Linked DNA regions of Homo sapiens: region 1 is linked to region 2. The links are contacts of gene promoters, found by promoter capture Hi-C in blood cells and fetal thymus (Javierre and others, 2016). All regions are on one chromosome and are shown on one strand. Each heading gives the region's core, a stretch centred on a gene start or on the middle of the fragment in contact. The rest is flanking DNA. Distances are from core to core; before and after follow the strand shown.

Region 1 (4,142 bases), core at 1,007-3,506, 640 kb before region 2:
ACATGTTTTATATATGTTTGCTGGGTGAGTCTGTATAACTTAAGGGATGAGAGTTGAGTGAACCCCTTCAGGAAAGACAACACAGGACAAGTGAGAAACAAGCTGTAGTGACTTACTACCTACGGGAATGAGATGAGTGGGCTGGGATTCTTCCAGTTTGCTCCTCAACCAGTCAAAATCCTGGTATCTTCGACGAACAGAATATTCTGGCAGGTCAAACTCCACCCGAGTACTCTGCAAAGAAGAGAATGGAAAAAAATAAGCATAAGGGAATAGCATATCTTGGCTGAAGGGAAGGAAAAAAGCTCTTAGAATAACCAAACTAGGCAAGATCATATTTTCCTTCCACCAAACACAACAGCCAAATGGCAGAGTTTACCAACACAGAATAGACCAGTCTGGGACACTTAGCCCAGTTAAAAATTCAACGAGCTGGAATAAAAATGCCAGTTTTCCGAGATTGCACCACTGCACTCCAGCCTGGGTGACAGAGCGAGACTCCGTCTCAAAAAAAAAAAAAAAAAAAAAAAAAAAAAAGCCAGTTTTTTTTTTTTTCCCTACCGTCAGGAAATAGAATTCAACTATCCCCCAGAATTGTTTAGAAACATTTGATTCATTTCCTCCAAGCTTAACTCTAACAATTTCTTTTAGCAGAAAAAATCCACTTAGGATATTGCTACTAAATCCAAATCTGTGAAAAGAAATTGTCTCCACCTTCTGCTAAATATGCTGACAAGTTTTGCCAAAGAGGAAATAAACAAAAAGTAAAGATAATAGATCACTGCTCATTTCGGGGGCAGATTAGATGAAAATAGAAAAGGTTTTGCTTAATTTGCCACATTCTGCCAAACCACAACCCTGGAACTGTTATATTTTAGACAGATAAGAAAAAATCTAGAAATAATACAAAAATGCCATTGCATTGCAGAAAAATATTAATAATCTCATCCCTTTTTCTCAATTTTTAAAGTTTTCTGAAATGTGATTGCAGCACTTTAATAATGAAAATCAATGTTAAATAAAATTGAGTTGATTTTTACCAAAACAAGATTTTTACTCATTTACTGGCACAAATTACACCGTGTCTCACATAAGCCATTTTTCCCTATGAGGATACACACTATATGACTGTCATGGTTCTCAGAAATTAAAGTACAAGATAAAAATGGGTCAAGCTACATCTCATAAATTTACTCTTTCAAGCCAAAAGTCTGTTTTAATTCACAGCACCAAGAAAATCTTTAAGCACATGAACGAGAGTCATTCATCAAAGAAAAAGCTGTGAACAGCTCTAGCATCAAAAATTATGATTTCATCCTCCCCAAAACCTGTGTTCACTGTCTTAGCAAAATGGTGAAGTTCAAGGACTCATTCTTGGACTGACCCCCAACTAACTGCATTGTTTCCCCTCTTCAAGTCCCACACACCAGCATATGCCTATGAAACACGACCTTCCTCTGTGTTTGCAAGGGTGAAGATGTGGGGAAATTCACTCAATGTAGGTATTTGTGACTTATCAGATGATTTTCCCAAAGGAACTAGCATTGTAGGACTGGAGAGAGAGGAAAAAAGACAACACTTAAATCCAGAGAGCAAGTCATTGTTGACAAATTTTCAAGCACAGCATGACAGAAATATTGGGAACAAGTGGCCTGATACTCCCATCCCCACACCACCCGCACAGGCGGAGTAGGAAGGACTCTGCGCCTATGCAGTTCTTGCATCCCTACCAGATCCCTAACATGTCACTAAGCCTCCTTGAGCCCTAGGTTCAACAGTAAGAAGAGAGTTAGGGCAGGGCGTGGTGGCTCATGCCTGTAATCCCAGCCCTTTAAGAGGCCAAGAAGGAAGGATTAGCTTGAGCCCTAGAGTTTGAGACCAGCCTGGGCAACATAGCGAGACCCCATCTCTGCAAAAAAAAGTTTTAAATTAGCCAGGTGTGGTAGTGCATACTTGCAGTCCCTACTACTCAGAGGCTGAGGCAGGAGGATTGTCTGAGCCCAGGAGGTCGAGACGACTGCAGTGAGCTGACTGTGCCACTGCACTTCAGCCTAGGCGACAGAGTGAGACCTTGTCTCAAAAAAACAAAAGCAGGTTGGAAGGGAAGTTCAAGACCTCCCATCTCCCCCCGATAGGCTCCATGTGAGAACTTGCCAATGATTAAGGGCTAATGAAAGACATATTTTGAAAGGTGACAAATTAAAGCAACTGGTTTTCATTGTAAACCAAACTGATGGAAGGCTCTACTTTTTGCCTTCTTAAATGTTACACGATTATTGGCTGGGCGCAGTGGCTCACACCTGTAATCCCAGCACTTTGGGAGGCCGAGGTGGGCTGATCATTTGGGGTCGGTAGTTCAAGATCAGCCTGGCCAACATGGTGAAACCCTGTCTCTATTAAAAATACAAAAATTAGCCAGTTGTGGTGGTGGGTGCCTGTAATCCCAGCTACTCAGGCAGCTGAGGCATAAGAATTGCTTGAACCCCAGAGGGGGAGGCTGCAGTGAGTCAAGACTGCACCACTGCACTCCAGCCTGGGAAACAGAGCAAGAGACCCTGTCTCAAAAAAAAAAAAAAAAAGTTACACTATTAACTGATCATTTCTCTTATGTTTTTCAGATCCATTTCATAAATTACAGTTTATGTAATATTTCTACTCTAATTTGAAATCATTTTTGGTAACTACAAAAGACAGCACAATAGAACACACGTTTTATTTTTGCCACAACCAATTTCACTTTTGGGGAACAGGCTTTTTTTTTTTCCTTCTATTTATTCGGGTTATATACTTATTTTAAAACTTCAAGAAAAATAAATAGAAAATAAAAGATCAGCCATAATCCCTCTAAATACAGAAAAACACAATTAACATGGTTTATATGTTTCCATATTTTTCTACGCATATTCATTCATTTACTCATTGTCTGTATCTCTTTTAGCACATCTTGGACATCTTTCTGCAGCAGTAAGTTCAGATGTACAGTCATTTTAACACATACATAGTATTCCACTGAATGGTTACACGATAATTAAACCAAATCCCCATTTAAGTTGTTTCCAATTTTTCCATCAATAAACAATACTTTTGTAAACACCATTGAGCACCTCGTAATTCCCTTAAAATAAATTCCTAAAGATAGAATTGCTGGACAAAAGTGTACATATACTTTTTAATTGACAAACTGCTTTCAGAAATATAGCAATTTATATTCTTACCACGTATTCTCAGGAACTAGTTATCTTTGGTGGACTGATAAATGAAAAATAATACATCATCTTTGTTTACAGTTGTTTCTTTAATTACTATTGGGGTTGAACATCCTTTCAAATGTTTATTGGCCAAAAGAAGAAAAGTATTTTTCTTCTTTTATCAGGGGTCTTTTTAAAAATTATAAGTCCAGCCAGGCGCAGTGGCTCATGCCTATAATCTTAGCACTTTGGGAGGCCGAGGCAGGCAGATAGCTTGAGTCCAGGAGTTCAAGACCAGCCTGAGCAACATGGCAAAACCCTGTCTCTACAAAAAATGCAAAAATTAGCCGGGCATGGTGGCATGCACCTGTAGTCCCTGCTACTCAGGACGCTGAGGTGGGAGGATCGCTTGAGCCTGGGAGGCAGAGGTTACAGCTAGCCAAGACTGCACCACTGCACTCCAGTGTGAGCCACAGAGTAAGACCTCAACTCAAAAAATAAATAAAAATAAAAATAAAAATTGAGTCAAGTCTTTTTCATTTGTGTAAGTTCTTTATTACCATTTGCCTATCATAATTTCCAAATGGTTTGTCTGATACAGAATCTTTCCATTGTTTTATTGTTGATTTCATCCATATTTGCCCTTTATGCTACTTTTGGGGTCTTCAGTAAGAAGGCCATCCCCACTGCAAGCTTATAAAAATATTCACCTATAGTCTCTATGATTTTCTTTTCTAGTTATGTCTAATCACTGCTTTTCTACTTCTAGGAATCTACCATTGGAAAATAATGTCTAAACTGTGGCAAGGATATTTGCATAATGATCTTCATTGCAATATTATTTAAATCAGCAAGGAATCAAAGCAACCTAAATATTCAATAATTAAAAACTATTAATGAAATTATGGCATATTTATTCTATGGCTGTCAGTAATTTTGTTGGTAAGACTTTTT
Region 2 (4,052 bases), core at 435-2,934:
GGCCTTGAATTCCTGGACTCAAGCAATTCTCCTGCCCTTCAGCCTCTTTAGTAGCTGGGACTACAGGCATGCCACACTTCACCCAGCTTGAAGTTGATTTTTAACTACTTGTTAAGACTCCACAACTTTAGCCCTTATATGGGTGTGTTTGAAAGTGGTGAGATTTACGGCAGGCTCATGGCAGAGAGTAAACAAGTGAGGATATGGGGTGAAGTAGTGGGGTGCCTGCTCTCGGCTGCGCTCCCACAGACATCACAAGCTCAAAGCCTTCAAACCGGATCTTATTTATTTCCTTCTCCCCGACTAGTCATAAAACCTAGTGGATTCCACTCTTACACACTGCCCTCTTCACACTCATTTGTCAATGCCCAGCTGCAGGACACATCTATCTCTATCTCTATCTGTCTGTCTGTCTGTCTGTCTGTCTATCTATCTATCTATCTATCTATCTATCTATCTATCTATCTATCTATCTATCTGTCTATGGAGTCTCACTCTGTCGCCCAGTCCGGAGTGCAGTGGTGCGAGCTCGGCTCACTTCAACCTCCGCCTCCTGGGTTCAAGCAATTCTCTCGCCTCAGCTTTCCGAGTAGCTGGGATTACAGGTGCCTGCCACCGTGCCCACCTAATTTTTTTTTTTTCAGTAGAGACGGGGTTTCACCAAGTTGGCCAGGCTGGTATCGAGCTCCTGACCTCAAGTGATCCACCCGCCTCGACCTCCCAAAGTGTTGGGATTACAGGCGTGAGCCACCGCACCGGGCCAGGACATGTCTTCTATTGCCTGATTCCTGCAGCAACTCCGGGCTGGACTCTTTGCCTTCCACATCCCAACCCAACCCCAATCCCAATTCCACAGAACAGACAGAGATGTGTCAGTGATGAAGTCATTCACTGCTTGAAACTGTGACAGCTTCCCGGCGACCTCCATCACTTGGGTTAGGAGGGCTAACTTCCCTCTGCAGCTCAACGCCCCTCTCCAACCCTCTGCTCTCACTCTAGGTCCCCATTCCCCATTTCTACAACAAACTCCCGCTTAGATTCCTCCCCAACGTCCTTCTCATCCTTGGGTCTTGGTTTACTCCTTCCCTTGGGATGAGTACGGCTGTGATGGAGGTAGGGGCTGGCATCAGCGCGTCCCAAGCCGGGTGTCCTCAGAGCAGCGGGGACTGATGCCAGCCCCTCCCTCCATCACAGCCCTACTCTCTCTCACTCCCGGTGACCAGGTGTCACCTGGTCAAGTGTGTCGCCCCTGGGTGGCCTGGGTCTGCGTCTTCCGACCTCTCATCTGGGCCTTGCGCTGTGGTCACCTCATCCAGCTCCCTTTCACGTCCTGGAAGATTTCCGCCCCTTGCTCCCCTCACCCCTCTCCCCGGGGGTGCCTCCCTGAGCCCTCGAGTGGCTTGAATCCTCCGCAACATTTCCTCCCCAGCACTCTCCGGGGCTCTGCGTCCAGCTGTGTCATTATCCGATGAGTGTCTGTCCCCCTTTGCGAATGTGAGCGGCGAGAGGGCAGCAAGTGCGGAGCCAGAGACGGACGCGGAACGGGCGTGTCCTAAGCCCAGGCCCCGACAAGAGGAAGGACCCGCGCTCTGCGGCCTCCCGGGGACCCCGCAGCGCCCCCCGCTTCCCTCGGCGGCGCCGGAAGCCGCCGGCTGGTCCCCTCCCCGCGGCGCCTGTAGCCTTATCTCTGCACCCTGAGGGCCCCGGGAGGAGGCGCGGGCGCGCCGGGAGGGACCGGCGGCGGCATGGGCCGGGGGCCCTGGGATGCGGGCCCGTCTCGCCGCCTGCTGCCGCTGTTGCTGCTGCTCGGCCTGGCCCGCGGCGCCGCGGGAGCGCCGGGCCCCGACGGTGAGTGCGGGCTGGGACGGGCACGGGCGGCCGGCGGGGCCCCCGGCTGGGCCTCGAGGACTCTGGGCGCACGGACGCTTCCCCGCCCCTGGGCCGGGCCGGCGCGGTGCCGAGGCGTGGGGCGCAGGTGGGGCCCGCGCCGGCCGTTGGAGATCGGCAAGGAGGAGCTCAGAGAAGCGGGGGGCTCCCCGCCGGGCTTCCCTGCCCCCGCCCGACCCCGCGACGCCGGGGGACGCCGGTTTTAAGGCGGCCTGGCCGGGCCCCCAGGGACCTCCACTGCCCAGGAGGCGGGGTGGGGGCTGGGCGCGAGCGCGGACCCGGGCAGGGCGGCGCCCGGGGAAGGGCGGGGAGGCCAGGGCGTTCTGCGGCGCTGTCACGCTTCCGGCTCTGCGGTGGCTTTTGCATGACACATTTTTGACCCGAAGCAATTTTCTTACCACTTTTAATTTTTTCACGTTGTTAGAGAGCCGGATGCTAAATATGGTGAGAAAGACGCGTAAGGAAGAGTACAGGAGTGAAGCCATTAATTCACTCATTCATTCAACAGATGGCCCTTGAACAGCTTCCCTGTGCGCGATGAGGGCGGGCAGTGCGGGCCCTCGTGGAGCTCATTGTCTGGAGGATTTAGACCAGCAAATGTTCTATTTCCAAGCAATCGAGGGAGTTGTTTTTCCTCCTCTGCAAAATGCAGTGTTGAGCTGAGTAGGAATTACACAGAGGATTCAGACACGCAGGGGAGGTGACATTCATCCACATAACTGTAATACAAGGCAGAATGGCATGGGTGCCATGAGAAGGTGTGGGTGGTGAGGGCAGGGAAAGGGGAATCGGTGGTGACCCTTGAGCTGGGCCATCAATGATTGGTCATATTTGGATATGGGAAAATGTGAAAAAGGTATCCCAGCTCATAGCAGAAGGCACTGTCACCTCTCCACAAATGAGTGTAGAATGAATGAATTCCTTCAGAATTCAGGCCCGGGGGAGAAGGGAAGGAAGCACACGGAGGCACCAGAGGCAGAGGGCAGAGTGCCTTGATTGGCAGACCTAGGCCTTTGGACTTAGCTGTGCCTGGAAGCCACTGGAAGCCGTCTCAGGGAGTGACAAGAAAAGTGGGTCTAGCCAGTTCTAGGCGCTTCGGGAGCCACAGGTTACAGTGCAGACATGGCCAAATCCAAGCACCACACCACACACAACCAGTCCCGAAAATGGCACAGAAACGGCATCATGAAACCCGGATCACAAAGATACGAATCTTTTAAAGGGGTGGACCCCAAGTTCCTGACAAACATGCGGTTTGCCAAGAAGCACAATAAGAGGGGCCTAAAGAAGATGCAGGGCGACAGTGCCAAGGCCATGAGTGCACGTGCTGAGGCCTTGCCCTCATAAACCCCAAGGAGGTTAAGCCCAAGATTCCAAAGGGTGTCAGCTCTTGCCTACGTTGCCCACCTCAAGCTTGGGAAACGTGCTCGTGCCCGCATTGCCAAGGGGCTCAGGCTGTGCCAGCCAAAGACCAAGGTCAAGGATCAAACCAAGGCTCAGGCTGCAGCTCCAGCTTCAGTTCCAGCTCAGACTCCCGAAGGAGCTCAGGCCCCTACAAAGCCTTCAGAGTAGAGATCTGTGTCTGCCAACGTGAGGACAGAAGGATTGTCCCCCTTGGACTGCCATCTGCATGGGGCTGATGTCCTCCTTTGCTATTTGTATAAGTAAACTTGAGGCGGGGGAAAGAGGGTCTAAGGAACCCCCATCTTCCTTACTAAAACCAAACGCTGATCCTGAAGTGGAAGGAAATTTCCATGTGATGACATACAAGGAGACTTGTGGTTGAGAATCCTGCCTGCCGCCCCCACCCCCATTCTCTTTGGCTTGGGACTTTTACCATGCCTGATGGGTATTTCAATGGCTTGATCTTCTGGAGTGGCCATTTTTGTAATATTAGGTGCCCTGGTTAAGATTCCTTCCTTGGCTCTATCTCCGAGAACAGTGCGCATAGGACTTGCAGATGCTTGGCGTCTATTTCAGGATCTTCCTGTGATATCTCTAAGGTAGGAAACTGTCCAGTATGATCCCATTGAATTGTTAGACTAAGATGGCTGAACACAGCTAGTAGCTACGTAAGGTCATCTGTAACTAAAGGTTTTGGGGGTGAATTTGGGGAAACAGAAGTCAAGGCTTCCTGGTTGAGCCCCCTCTCCTTATCTAGACAT

The links. The method cuts DNA at HindIII sites, captures the fragments that hold promoters and counts their contacts. A CHiCAGO score of 5 or more calls a contact.
Region 1: a fragment that was not itself captured here is called in contact with the fragment with the promoter of SUSD1 in region 2 in 1 of 17 cell types (total B cells); the score reaches 5.1 in total B cells.

What each region holds. Positions count from the first base shown.
Region 1 is chr9:112,813,797-112,817,938 of GRCh38, reverse strand. It overlaps SNX30 (sorting nexin family member 30), which reads right to left. Exons shown (of 9, transcript NM_001012994.2): 3 at 124-234. Among named protein-coding and RNA genes, the nearest start is that of SNX30, 65 kb to the right of the region's middle. The HindIII fragment of the contact is 3,254 bases long and covers 630-3,883 here.
Region 2 is chr9:112,172,929-112,176,980 of GRCh38, reverse strand. It overlaps SUSD1 (sushi domain containing 1), which reads left to right and starts at 1,684. Exons shown (of 17, transcript NM_022486.5): 1 at 1,684-1,848. The coding sequence starts at 1,746. It also overlaps the pseudogene RPL29P20. RefSeq lists a silencer at 1,566-2,225. The HindIII fragment of the contact is 4,774 bases long and covers 1-3,302 here.